Linked DNA regions of Homo sapiens: region 2 is linked to region 1. Evidence: promoter capture Hi-C in human tissues and cell types (Jung and others, 2019). All regions are on one chromosome and are shown on one strand. The core of a region is centred on a gene start or on the middle of the fragment in contact, and the rest is flanking DNA. Distances in the headings are between cores, read along the strand shown.

The links. Contacts are between HindIII fragments. The study calls those that stand out against the background at their distance.
Region 2: a contact is called between a fragment that was not itself captured here and the fragment with the promoter of COIL in region 1, in 1 of the 25 tissues and cell types used here (spleen).

What each region holds. Positions count from the first base shown.
Region 1 is chr17:56,958,780-56,964,396 of GRCh38, reverse strand. It overlaps COIL (coilin), which reads left to right and starts at 3,347. Exons shown (of 7, transcript NM_004645.3): 1 at 3,347-3,622. The coding sequence starts at 3,378. It overlaps LOC105371836 (a long non-coding RNA gene), which reads right to left and starts at 3,249. Exons shown (of 4, transcript XR_934875.4): 1 at 2,985-3,249. RefSeq lists enhancers at 3,266-3,315, 3,326-3,465, 3,215-3,509 and a silencer at 3,636-3,745. The HindIII fragment of the contact is 17,787 bases long and covers 1-5,617 here.
Region 2 is chr17:56,808,384-56,814,021 of GRCh38, reverse strand. All of the region lies in intron 6 of C17orf67 (chromosome 17 open reading frame 67), which reads left to right. Among named protein-coding and RNA genes, the nearest start is that of C17orf67, 23 kb to the left of the region's middle. The HindIII fragment of the contact is 6,914 bases long and covers 1-4,793 here.

The DNA.
Region 1 (5,617 bases), core at 2,098-4,597:
CTCCAGACTGGGCAACAGAGTGAGACTCCCTCTCAATAAAAAAAGAAAAGAAGAAAAGAAAAAAGACTGTATGGTGTTGGTGGAGGGAAAGACATATAGATCAATGAAACAGAACAGAGAATCCAGAAATAGATGTACACAAATATGCCCAACTGATTTCTGACAAACATTCAAAAGATTCAAAATGGAGGACATATAGTGTTATTAACAAATAGTACTGGAGCAATTGGACATCAAGAGGCAAGCAAACAAACAAAAATGAACGCTGATATAACTCTTACACAAAAATTAACTCAGGCTATGGCTCACACGAGTAATTCCACTGCTTTGGGAGGCTGAGCTGGGAGGATTGCTTGAGCCCAGAAAGTAGGGGCTGCAGTGAGCTATGATCTTGCCACTGCACTCCAGCCTGGACAACAGAACAAAAAACAAACAGGCTGGGCACAGAGGCTCCCGCCTGTAATCCCAGCTCTTTGGGAGGCCGAGGTGGGCAGATCACCGGAGGTCAGGAGTTCAAGACCAGCCTGACTAACATGGTAAAACCCTATCTCTACTAAAAATACAAAAATTAGCCAGGCGTGGTGGCGGGTGCCTGTAGTCCCCAGCTACTCGGGCAGCTGAGGCAGGAGAATCACTTGAACCTGGGAGGCAGAGGTAGCAGTGAAGAAAAAATTGATCGACCAGACTTCATCACAATTTAGAACTTTTGGTCTGTGATAGGCCCTATTAAGAGAATGATTAAAAAAAAAAAAAAGCTCCAGAGTCAAAGAAAATAATCCGCAATCCACATATCTGACAAAGTACTGTTACTGGTGGAGGGTGTTCTTGGCATCTTGAACAGAGAATTGGACAAAACGCACAAACAAAGCAAGGAAAGAATGAAGCAACAAAAACAGAGATTTACTGAAAATGAAAGTACGCTCCACAGGGTGGGAGCAGGCCCGAGCATAGGGGCTCAAGGGCCCTGTTACAGAATTTTTGGGGGCTTAAATACCCTCCAGAGGTTTCCACTGGTTTCTTGGTGTATGTCCTATGTAAATGGAGAGGATGAGGTAAAGTTAGAAAGTCATTTACTCCTCGTATGCCCTATGTAAATGAAGAGGATATTTCCTGTCACAGCTGAAGTGTGAATTGGCCTTATGTTCCCTGCCTCCAGATCCTATTTTCCTGCCTCAGTACTACTATCTAGAATACATAAAGAACTCTCAAAATTTAACAATCTAATAAGAGTAGATGTAAAAGACTTGAAGAGAATTTCACTGAAGAAGCACATAAACACAGGAAAAATGTTCAACATTATTAGCCATTAGAAAATACAAATTAAAACCACAAGAGGCTGGGCATGGTGGCTCATGCCTGTAATCCCAATATTTGGGAGGCTGAGGTGGGAGGATAGCTTGAGCCCAAGAGTTTGAGACCAGTCTGGGCAATGTGGCAAAACTCCGTCTCTACAAAGATTACAAAATTTAGCAGGGCATGGCAGTGCATGCCTGTAGTCCCAGCCACTCAGGAGGCTGAAGTGGGAGGTTCATTTGAGCTTCAGAGGTGAAGGCTGCAGTAAGCCTTGTGATCACGCCACTGCACTTCAGCACTGGAGACATAATGAGACCCAGCCTCAAAACAAACAAACAAATAAATAAAACCACAACATACCACAACACATCTACCAGAATGACTAAAAAATAGTGACAATGCCAAATGGTAGTCAGGATGTGGAGAAACTGGGATTACAGGGGTGAGCCACTGCGCCCAGCCGGAAATGCCCAAAAGTTATCCTGTATGGTGTAAAAGGGGAGTAACCCTCAGTTCTGAGGGAAATCCCTGCCCCTTTCCTAGGGATACAGAAAACTCATGAATAATCCATCCTTTGTTTAGCATACAGTCAAGAAGTAACTATAAGTATACTTGACTGAGTATACTTATAGTATGGGCTCGCTGCTCTGTCTATGGAGTAGTCATTCTTTTATTCCTTTAATTCTCTAATAAACTTGATTTTAGTCGGAGGTGGTGGCTCATGCCTGTAATCCCACCACTTTGGGAGGCCAAGGCAGGCAGATTGCTGGAATTCAGGAATTCGAGACCAGCCTGGCCACCATGGAAAAACCCTATCTCTACAAAAAATACAAAAATTAGCTGGGCTTGGTGGCTCACACCTGTGGTTCCAGCTACTAGGAAGGCTGAGGTGGGAAGTCACTTGAACCCGGGAGGCAGAGTGCACCACGGCACTCCAGCCTAGGTGACAGAGCAAGACTCTAAAAAAAGAAAATCCAAAAACCCTTACTTTCAGTTAAAAAATTTTGTTTTCAATTCATCTACTGACTCCCTGGTATCTACAACTTAACTAGTCTAGTGAACTTGGGGAAGTTACTCCTTTTTTTTTTTTTAAGACAGAATCTTGCTCTATTGCCCAGGCTGGAGTGCAGTGGCACGATCCTGACTCACTGCAACCTCCACCTCTTGGGTTCAAGCGATTCTACTGCTTCAGTCTCCCGAGTAGCTGGAATTATAGGCACATGCCACCACACCCGGCTAATCTTTATATTTTTAGTAGAGTTGGGGTTTCACCATTTTGGCCAGGGTGGTCTCAGACTCCTGGTCTCAAGTGATCCGCCCACCTTGGCCTCTCAAAGTGCTGGGATTACAGGCGTCAGCCACTGCTCCTGGCCTCTAGTTACTTCTTAAACTCTCTGAACCTTGTTTTTTTTAAATCCTCTAAATAAGGATAACAGTTCATAATTCCTAACTTTTGTTATGAAAATTAAAGGAGTTAATATATATTATGTGGAGAAATGTAAATTCTAGTTCAAAAAATAGAAGAAATAATGTAAATACTGATTTATTTATCTGGTGAGAAATGCAAGGACATTTTTGTTTGGTGGTGGGTATTAAAAGGCTAAGGTATTTATATTCCACTGGATACATTTGGAAGAATGATTAACAGTGTTATTTCAAAATTTCAACATTGAGAACACACTAGGACTTACATCTTTTTCAACTCATCATGATGAAAAATTTTGTCAGCGAAATGTGTTAGGATTGTTTTATAAAAATCTTTCACGTCGATGAGCAAATATCTTAGAAGACTACTGCTGAGGAGAAATGTTATTTATCCAGAGAGTTGCCTTAATTAGGAGACCCTACATAGCGCCCAGTAGAAATGTAATAAAGGCATTTCACTTATTCCCTTCCTCAGCCCTGCCGTGAACAAAATTGAATGAAATCAACCACGCTCCGAGTTCTCGCCTAGACGCAGCCTGTAGTAGCCAGGTTTCACCACTAGGTGGCACACGCCAAAGGCTCCGGCGGGGGCGAGCCGCCCGAGCACGCCTCTCGGTGGCCCCGTGGTATCTCTCGGCTTCCGTTGAGCACCAAGCAAGATGGCAGCTTCCGAGACGGTTAGGCTACGGCTTCAATTTGATTACCCGCCGCCAGCTACCCCGCACTGTACGGCCTTCTGGCTTCTGGTCGACTTGAACAGATGCCGAGTCGTCACAGATCTCATTAGTCTCATCCGCCAGCGCTTCGGCTTCAGTTCTGGGGCCTTCCTAGGCCTCTACCTGGAGGGGGGGCTCTTGCCCCCCGCCGAGAGCGCGCGCCTTGTGAGAGACAACGACTGCCTCAGGTGCGCGGCGCAGGGAGCGGGACGGCCGGGTGGGCGGCGGGCGGGGGACGCGCCTGCGCACGCCCGGGCCTGAAGCCGCTAGACCTGGTAGTGGAGGGGATGGGGGATGGGGAAGGGGACGAGGGTTGGAGGGGGGTGGGGCTGTAAAAATGCACGTTCGCGAACCCCGGAGATCCTGATTGGTGTAGTCAACTTTGGGGCTCAGGAATCTGCATTTTATTATTATTTTTTATTATTATTTTTTTTTTTTTGAGACGGAGTCCTGCTTTGTCACCCAGGCTGGAGTACAGTGGCGCGATCTCGGTTCACTGCAACCTCCACCTCCCGGGTTCAAGCAATTTTCCTGCCTCAGCCTCCCGAGTAGCTGGGACTACAGGCGTCCGCCACCACGCCCGGCTAATTTTTGTATTTTTAGTAGAGATGGGGTTTCACCATATTGGTCAAGGTGGTCTCGAACTCCTGACCTCAGTTGATCCGCTTGCATCGGCCTCTCAAAGTGCTGGGATTGCAGGCGTGCACCACCGCATCCTGCCCCTATTATTTTTATTTTTGAGACTGAGTCTCATTCTGTCACCCAGGCTGGAGTGCAGTGGCGCGATCTCAGCTCACTGCAGCCTCCACCTCCCGGGTTCAATCGATCCTCCCACCTCAGCCTCCCGAGTAGCTGGGCTTACAGGCGGGCGCCACCATGCCCGGCTAATTTTTTGTTTGTTTGTTTGTATTTTTAGTAGAGACGGGGTTTCACCGTGTTGGCCAGGCTGGTCTTGAACTCCTGACGTTAAGTGATCCTCCCGGCTTCCCAAAGTGCTGGGATTACAGGCGTGAGCCTCCGCGCCTGGCTGGAATCTGCAGTGTAACGAGCATCCTTCCCGGGATGCTTCTGATGACAGGAGAATCAAACTTGGAAAATCCCTGATGCCTAAGGGCAGGGCCAGGCTTTCTTTCAGCCTTGATTTAGCACATCCGCGCTTAGCTAGGCACTGTGCGACTCTGTTGCGTGCCCATGGTGCAGATGTGCCGGAGACCCGGCCTTACCCATGGCGGCCTTCAGGGTCAGGTGCAGGAAGCTGACAAAGGGGAATCGTTGTGTTTTCTTCATAACCTGCTGTTGTCCAGCCTTAGTTCTCATGTGCCCAGTGTCCCCTGAGACTTCTGGTGGCGTATCATTTTGTGTCTCACCCAGACATTTTGGGATTCTCTCAAATAAGTGTCTTGAGTCCTTTTGGGCTGTAAATTGGGAAACACAAAATAATCTTAAATATGCTTTTGGAAGTTAAAAAAATGATAATGAGATGAGTATCCAGGAGCAATTGTAGTGTGAATTGCTGAAATGTGGTTGAGTTGCCACAGTAAGATGATGGTATCTGATCATTCCAGTTTGGATTCATATCTTGGACTGATTTATTCAGACTTTTTTTTTTCTTTTTTAAATAAAGAGACTGGGTTTCCCATGCCCAGGCTGGAGTGCAGTGGTACGATCATAGCTTGCTGTAACCTTGACTTCCTGGGCACAGGCAATCCTCCCACCTCAGCCTCCCGAGTAGTTGGGACTTCAGGCCAGGCAACCACGCCTGGCTAATTTTTGTATTTGTTGTAGAGACAGGGTTTCGCCATGTTGCCCAGGCTGGTCTCGAATCCCTGGGCTCAAGCTGTCCTCTCACCTCAGCCCCCCAAAGCACTGGGATTACAGGCGTAAGCCACTGTGCCAGCCTTCCTTCCCCCACCCCCTTTAAGCTTCAGCTACAGTGAATTAATTCCAGAGTTGTGAACCAGGCTATTTTCTCTTGCTGCCCTTTGTCGTTGAATATTCCTTACCCTCAAGCATGTCAGATTCCGTAAGATTTCTTCAGAACATCAGGGAATTTAATTTGGAACAGTAACTGCATCTTTAAATCAGGATATTATGATTTATTGAATAATGTTCAACTGTTTCAAATGACAATTTGAAATAATCCAAATTTCAAAGAGTTTTTTTTCCCCCTTTTTATTGACTGT
Region 2 (5,638 bases), core at 87-2,586, 150 kb after region 1:
TTAAAGGCTCTTATTAAGATATAGTATTGCACAGTGACGAAGAGTGCTGACTTTGGGGTCAGACTGGGTTTGAATCTCCCTGTTTACTAACTGGGTAAGTTTGGGGAAGTTTCTTCACATTTCTGCAGCTCAGTACTTTCATCTATAAAATGGGGATAATAAATACTATTGCTGATATTACTATAATATTATTATTATAAATAATAATGTAAAATAATTATTTTATGATGATAAAACAAAGTACTTTTTAAGAAAGCACTTAGAAAGTGCTCAGCAAATGGTAAGTACTCCTCTGAGTATTAAGTACCTGGTACCTGCTAGGTGCCGGGGCTGTAGGTTTCTGCTCAAAGTCTGTGGTGGAGACAGAAGTAAGCAAATGGCTGCTATGCAGTATGATTTAAGAACAGATGACTTCAGGCTCTTAGGGATAGATGTGGCTTTTAATTTTTTTTTTTTTGTAGAATAAGAGGTATCTTGGGTTTTATCTTGTATCTAGTAGAGAACAACTGAAGGATTTTTCAAGTTGGGGAGTACAGATCTGGGTGTTAGAGAGTTTGAGACAATGAGAGAAGGGGCCCATGATTGAAGTCTGGGATCACCAACACTCAGAGGTGGGCAGGGGAAGAGGAACCCTGAAAGGGCTGAGAAGGAATGCAGAGAGATAGAGAAGCCAAGAGAGTGGGGGTGGCAGAGCAAGGCGGGGAGGCATAGGAGGGGCTGGGGTGAAGGAAGGGCAGCATGTGCACAACTGTGATGGGGAGGAGGATGCCTGGAGGGAGGGATCCTGTTGGCGGCTGGCGGGTTGGGGGTGGGGGCTCTGGCTGGCCCCCTGTGCTTTTGGCATGATGCCTGGAGCGGCCATTCTGCAGCTCTTCCTCAGGGACCCGGCAGGGGCTGGGGGAGCTGGTTGAAGAGTCCTCAAAGCAGTGGCTCCTGCTCAAGGTGCTCGAGAGGCAGCTCTAATGACTCCCACATCTGCCCCCTGACATTTTCTGTGCCAGCATCTGCACCTGGCTCTTTTGAACTCTGTCTGTGGAATAACAGTCTTTGTCCTAACTGAGGCATTGTAGATGTGGGTGAACAGGTGGGTTTGAATTGCTGCAGCCCGTTGTTGCAACTGTTGTTGCCAGGCTAGACTCTGGCCCTAAAACCCTGTTTTGTGTGGTCCTTCCCCTGCTCAAAAACTTCTGAAAGCTTCTCCTCTGTTTGCTTTTTCCCACTTGTGGTCATCACCTCCCTTAATCCTTGACAGCCCTCTGCTTGCTTCCAACTTTGCAATTTTACTGAATATCTGGCTTTTTCTGGTTTGTTTTGCTCATCTTTTATAGGCTTGACCACCACCTGCTCCTCTTAACTGCCTCGAACCTACCTGATTAGTTTCCATGTAACTCCTTCTTGCCTCAGAACCTATTGCTGAGCCACCATCCCATCCTCCATGTCCCTCTCAGAGACACTTCATCCAATGTCCAGAATCCTCAGGCATTCAGTCCAGTTTGGAAAAGTGGTCATATGTTTTACAATTGAAATGTGAAACAAACATGCAGTCAATTATTGGGTGGCTAGTCTACACCAGTAGTTCTCATCCATAGGTGATTATGCCCCCTCATCCCCAGGGACATTTGACAATATCTGAAGACATTTTTGGTGGTTACACCTGTGTGGGGCATTGCTTTTGGCACCCAGTGGGTACAGACCAGGGATGCTGCTAAACACCCTACACAGGGCACAGGGCAGCCTCCACCACCCTCTGGCCCAAAATGTCAGTAGTGCCAAAGGAGAGGAACCAAGTCTACACATTGCCAAGTAAACTTTTTCTTGTTTACTCTCTGTCACGCTGTGTGTGTCTCTCTCTGTCTCTCTCTATAATTGCACTCACTTGAACACACACAGAATTGGTTGAATTAACAAATAGTTTCTGGTATCGTATTTTTTCTAGAAATGTGTTTCTTAACTTTGGTTACATTCTGGAACCACCTGGGGAATTTAAATTCCGATGCCTGGGTCCCACTCCCAGAGGGGTGGCCTGGGGTGGGACCTGGGTATGGGGGATGGGGCCAAAGCCCCAGTGATGCCAACCTGCAGCCGAGGCTGAGAACCACTGGGCTAGGCCATCTGGGAGAAATCAGCCACGTGTGTACCAGCTCCTGTGGTCTAGTTGGGAACATAAAAGCATTTAGAAAGCTGTTAAATGTTGAACTGGGTGGTATGGAGAGTATCTTAGTTGTTTAGACAAAAAGAGAGAGTGAGAGGGTCAAGTGGTGCGTGCTGATCAAGATGTGCACTTAATTAGATTTTATATTGACCATGCCCTACTAAGCACCAGGGACTGAGGATGAAAGATAAACCAGACATTCTTCCTTACTCAAGGTGCCCATTGTGTGGAGGTGGAGCCAGAGTGCCCCAGCCTGATTTGGGCTCACTAACGAGGTTATCTGGTACAATGGACTGCGGCTCTGCAAGAAGAGAGTCTCGAGCCCCAGCCTGATTTGGGCTCACTAACGAGGTTATCTGGTACAATGGACTGCGGCTCTGCAAGAAGAGAGTCTCGAGCTCCAACTGGAAGGAAAGGGGAGGCTGGGAAGGCTTCCCAGAGGAGGTGCCCACCCAGCTGTGGCTTGAAGGATGACCAGGAGTTCTCAGGCAGGGCAGGGGGTAGGGATGAGGCAGGAAGAATATTCCACCCAGTGCATTTCCAGTCCATATTCTGCCGCTAACTAGTTGTGGACTTTGGGTAAGTCACTTCCTCTTTTGGAAGCCTAGTTTTTTCATCTATAAAATGCAGAGTTTGGCTGGAATCTGGCCTAGATTCCAGAATGTCTAATTCCAGGTCTCATATTGTAGGGCTCTGGATAGAACCTTGGGGCTGACACAGGTTTCCTGGTGCCAGTCTGCAATGTGACAGAAGAGCCAGAGGCAGCAGGATACCAACCCAAGCGAGGAGTCAGGCAGTTTATTCTGAGGCCCCTGGAGGGGTATCCCTAGAAACCACAGGCCTCCTCACCTCATGCTGGCCCTGCGGCTGGGAGTACTCCACATCCTCGACTTACCATTTGACCCACTCACGCCTCTTGGGTCTCCTTGTTGACTTCTTCTTTTATGGATTTACTGAAAGCAAAATTAATAATGCCAGTCAGTGGCATGTAAAAAGAGGTAATTTACTGCATTTAACTGTGACTGTCAAAATGATCCTGGCCCTGCACTCCCAGTTGGAGCATAAGAGGCAGTGGCCTCAGGTTTGTCCTTGGGTGGTGAGGAGCCGATAAGCCTGGACCTCTGGCCAGGGGAGGCCAGAGGCTGGCATTAGAGCTGCCATACGGGCCCACATCTTCATAGCCTGGGAAGGAGGGAGTTCAGAGGCTAAGGCCTTTGCCTCCTGGGAGCCAGCCCTTCTGGCTCTTTGCCTTTTGCCAAGACCTCCTCACCCTCCCTGTTTCTGAGTGTAGGCCAAGAACAGCTGCGCACAGATGTCCCTTTGCTTGGGAAGAGGGTGGGATGGATGCACCATGCTGTGAATTTGGCTGCCAGTATTGTGTATGTGTGTATGTGTGTGTGAATGTGTGTGAGGGGTGTGTGTATGAGGGTATGTATGAGGGTGTGTGTGAGGGGTGTGTGTGAGGGGTTTGTGCATGTGAGGGGTTTGTGTGTGTGAGGGATGTGTGAGGGGTGTGTGTGTGAGGGTGTGTGTATTCGAATGTGAGAATTGTATGAGGGGTATGTGTGTGAGGAGTATGTGAAGGTGTGTGAGGGTGCATGAGGAGTGTGGGAGAGCGATGCATGTGTGTGAGGATGTATGTGAGGGGTGTGATGGTGTGTGTGAGAGTGTGTGTGTGAAGGGTGTGTTCAAGGAGTGTGTGTGAGGTGGGGGTGTGAGGGGTGTGCGTGAGGGGTCTGTGCAAGGAGTGTGAGGGTGTGTGTCAGAAGTGTGAGGGGTGTGTGAGGGTGTGTGTCAGAAGTGTGAGGGGTGTGTGAGGGGTGTGTGTGAGGGATGCATGTGTGAGGGTGTATGAGGGATGTCTGGGGTGTGTGTGTGAAGGGTCTGTGCAAGGATTGTGTGTGAGGTGAGTGAGGAGTATGTGTGAGGAGTATGTGTGAGGGGTGTGTGAGGGTGTGTGTAAGGGTGTGTGTAAGGGGTGTGTGTGAGAGGTGTGTGAAGGTGCAGGTGTGTGTGAGGGTGTATGTGTAAGGGGTGTGTGAGTGTGTGAGGGTGTATGTGTAAGGGGTGTGTGAGGGGTCTGTGTATGAGGTGTGTGTGTAGAGGGGTGTGTGTGAGGGTGTATGTGTGTAGAGGGGTGTGAGGGTGTATGTGTGAGGAGTGTGTGAATGTGTGTAATAGGTGTGTGTGAGGGTCTGTGTGTGAGCAGTCTGTGAGGGGTCTGTGTGTGAGGGTGTGTGTGTGGGTGTGTGTGCGCGTGAGGGTTGTGTGTGAGGGGTGTGTGTGAGGGGTGTGTGTGAGGCTGTGTATGTGTGAGGGTGTGTGTGAGGGGTGTACGTGAGGGTGTATGTGTGAGGGGTGTGTGAGGGTTCGTGTGTGTGTGTGTTTTGAAAAGGCCTTACTGAGTATTTTTTCAGAAGGTCTGAGTTCCAGCCCCCTCTTCTACTTTCGCCTTGACTTGCGGACCTGGGTTTTGTGGAATGATGGCAGATGGCATCGCCAGGTTGTTGTGAGGCTGGGTTGGAAGGTACTTGGATGCCACAGCAGAGTTGGGTTTCTGTACACAGTAGGGAGCTGTGCAGGGATTTCAAGCAGGGGAATGATGTGATTAGATCTTGTTTCCAGGGGCCCTTTAGAGGTTCAGGACACAGCCTCTTAAATGCTTGCCTTTAGATGCTGTCATACCTGGGAAATAGGAAGTGACGTTTTGGATGCGCTATTGCACCTTCTTGCCATGGTACCCAGGAGACAAACAAGTGGACTTGGGCAAATGAGTAGAGTTAGTGATCATTGGAGAATGCATGTGCCCTTGAGAACAGAGCCACATACCCTCACACTCACCCCTCCACACTAAATCACCGAGAGATGACTGGTCAGGTTATTTTATTTTGCTTCTCCATGTTAAGGGACTGTGCAAAAGAAAACACTTCCAGAGAGGGAAGAGGCCATTGATGAGGGTAAACAAATGGTGCTTTAGGGGAGGTGTTAAGAATTCAAAATGAAAACAAGTATGAAGATTTGCAGAAGTCTCTCCTCATGAAGATCTACTGAGCCATGTTTATACACTTAACACTTGGCTTAAATATTGGCAGAGGTTGGCTTCTGTGGATTTATAGGCTTTTTGAAAACAGGTTGAGACAAGCTGTGCCCGTGCACACAAAGGGCTAGACTGTTTGACATAGATCCTGCTGATTCACTGCAACAAGCTGTTCTTTTCTGACTTGGTGGTGGGAAGGACAAAGTGCTTTTGAGAAGATTGCTGGGTAACCCTGTACTGTAGGGAGGGCCAGTATTCAACCCAGAGGAGCACGGACATCTTGCGGGGAACCTAGATGAAGGAAGGCAAGGCCCAGAGGGGATGGAGAGGGAGATCAGAGGGAGACAGATGGCTCTGGGTAAGAGAGAAGGAGGGATTTTGAGTGTATGGAGGCAGCATATGGAGGTAGCGTATGAAGAGAAAGGTGGGAAGGTAGAACCCAAGGAGGG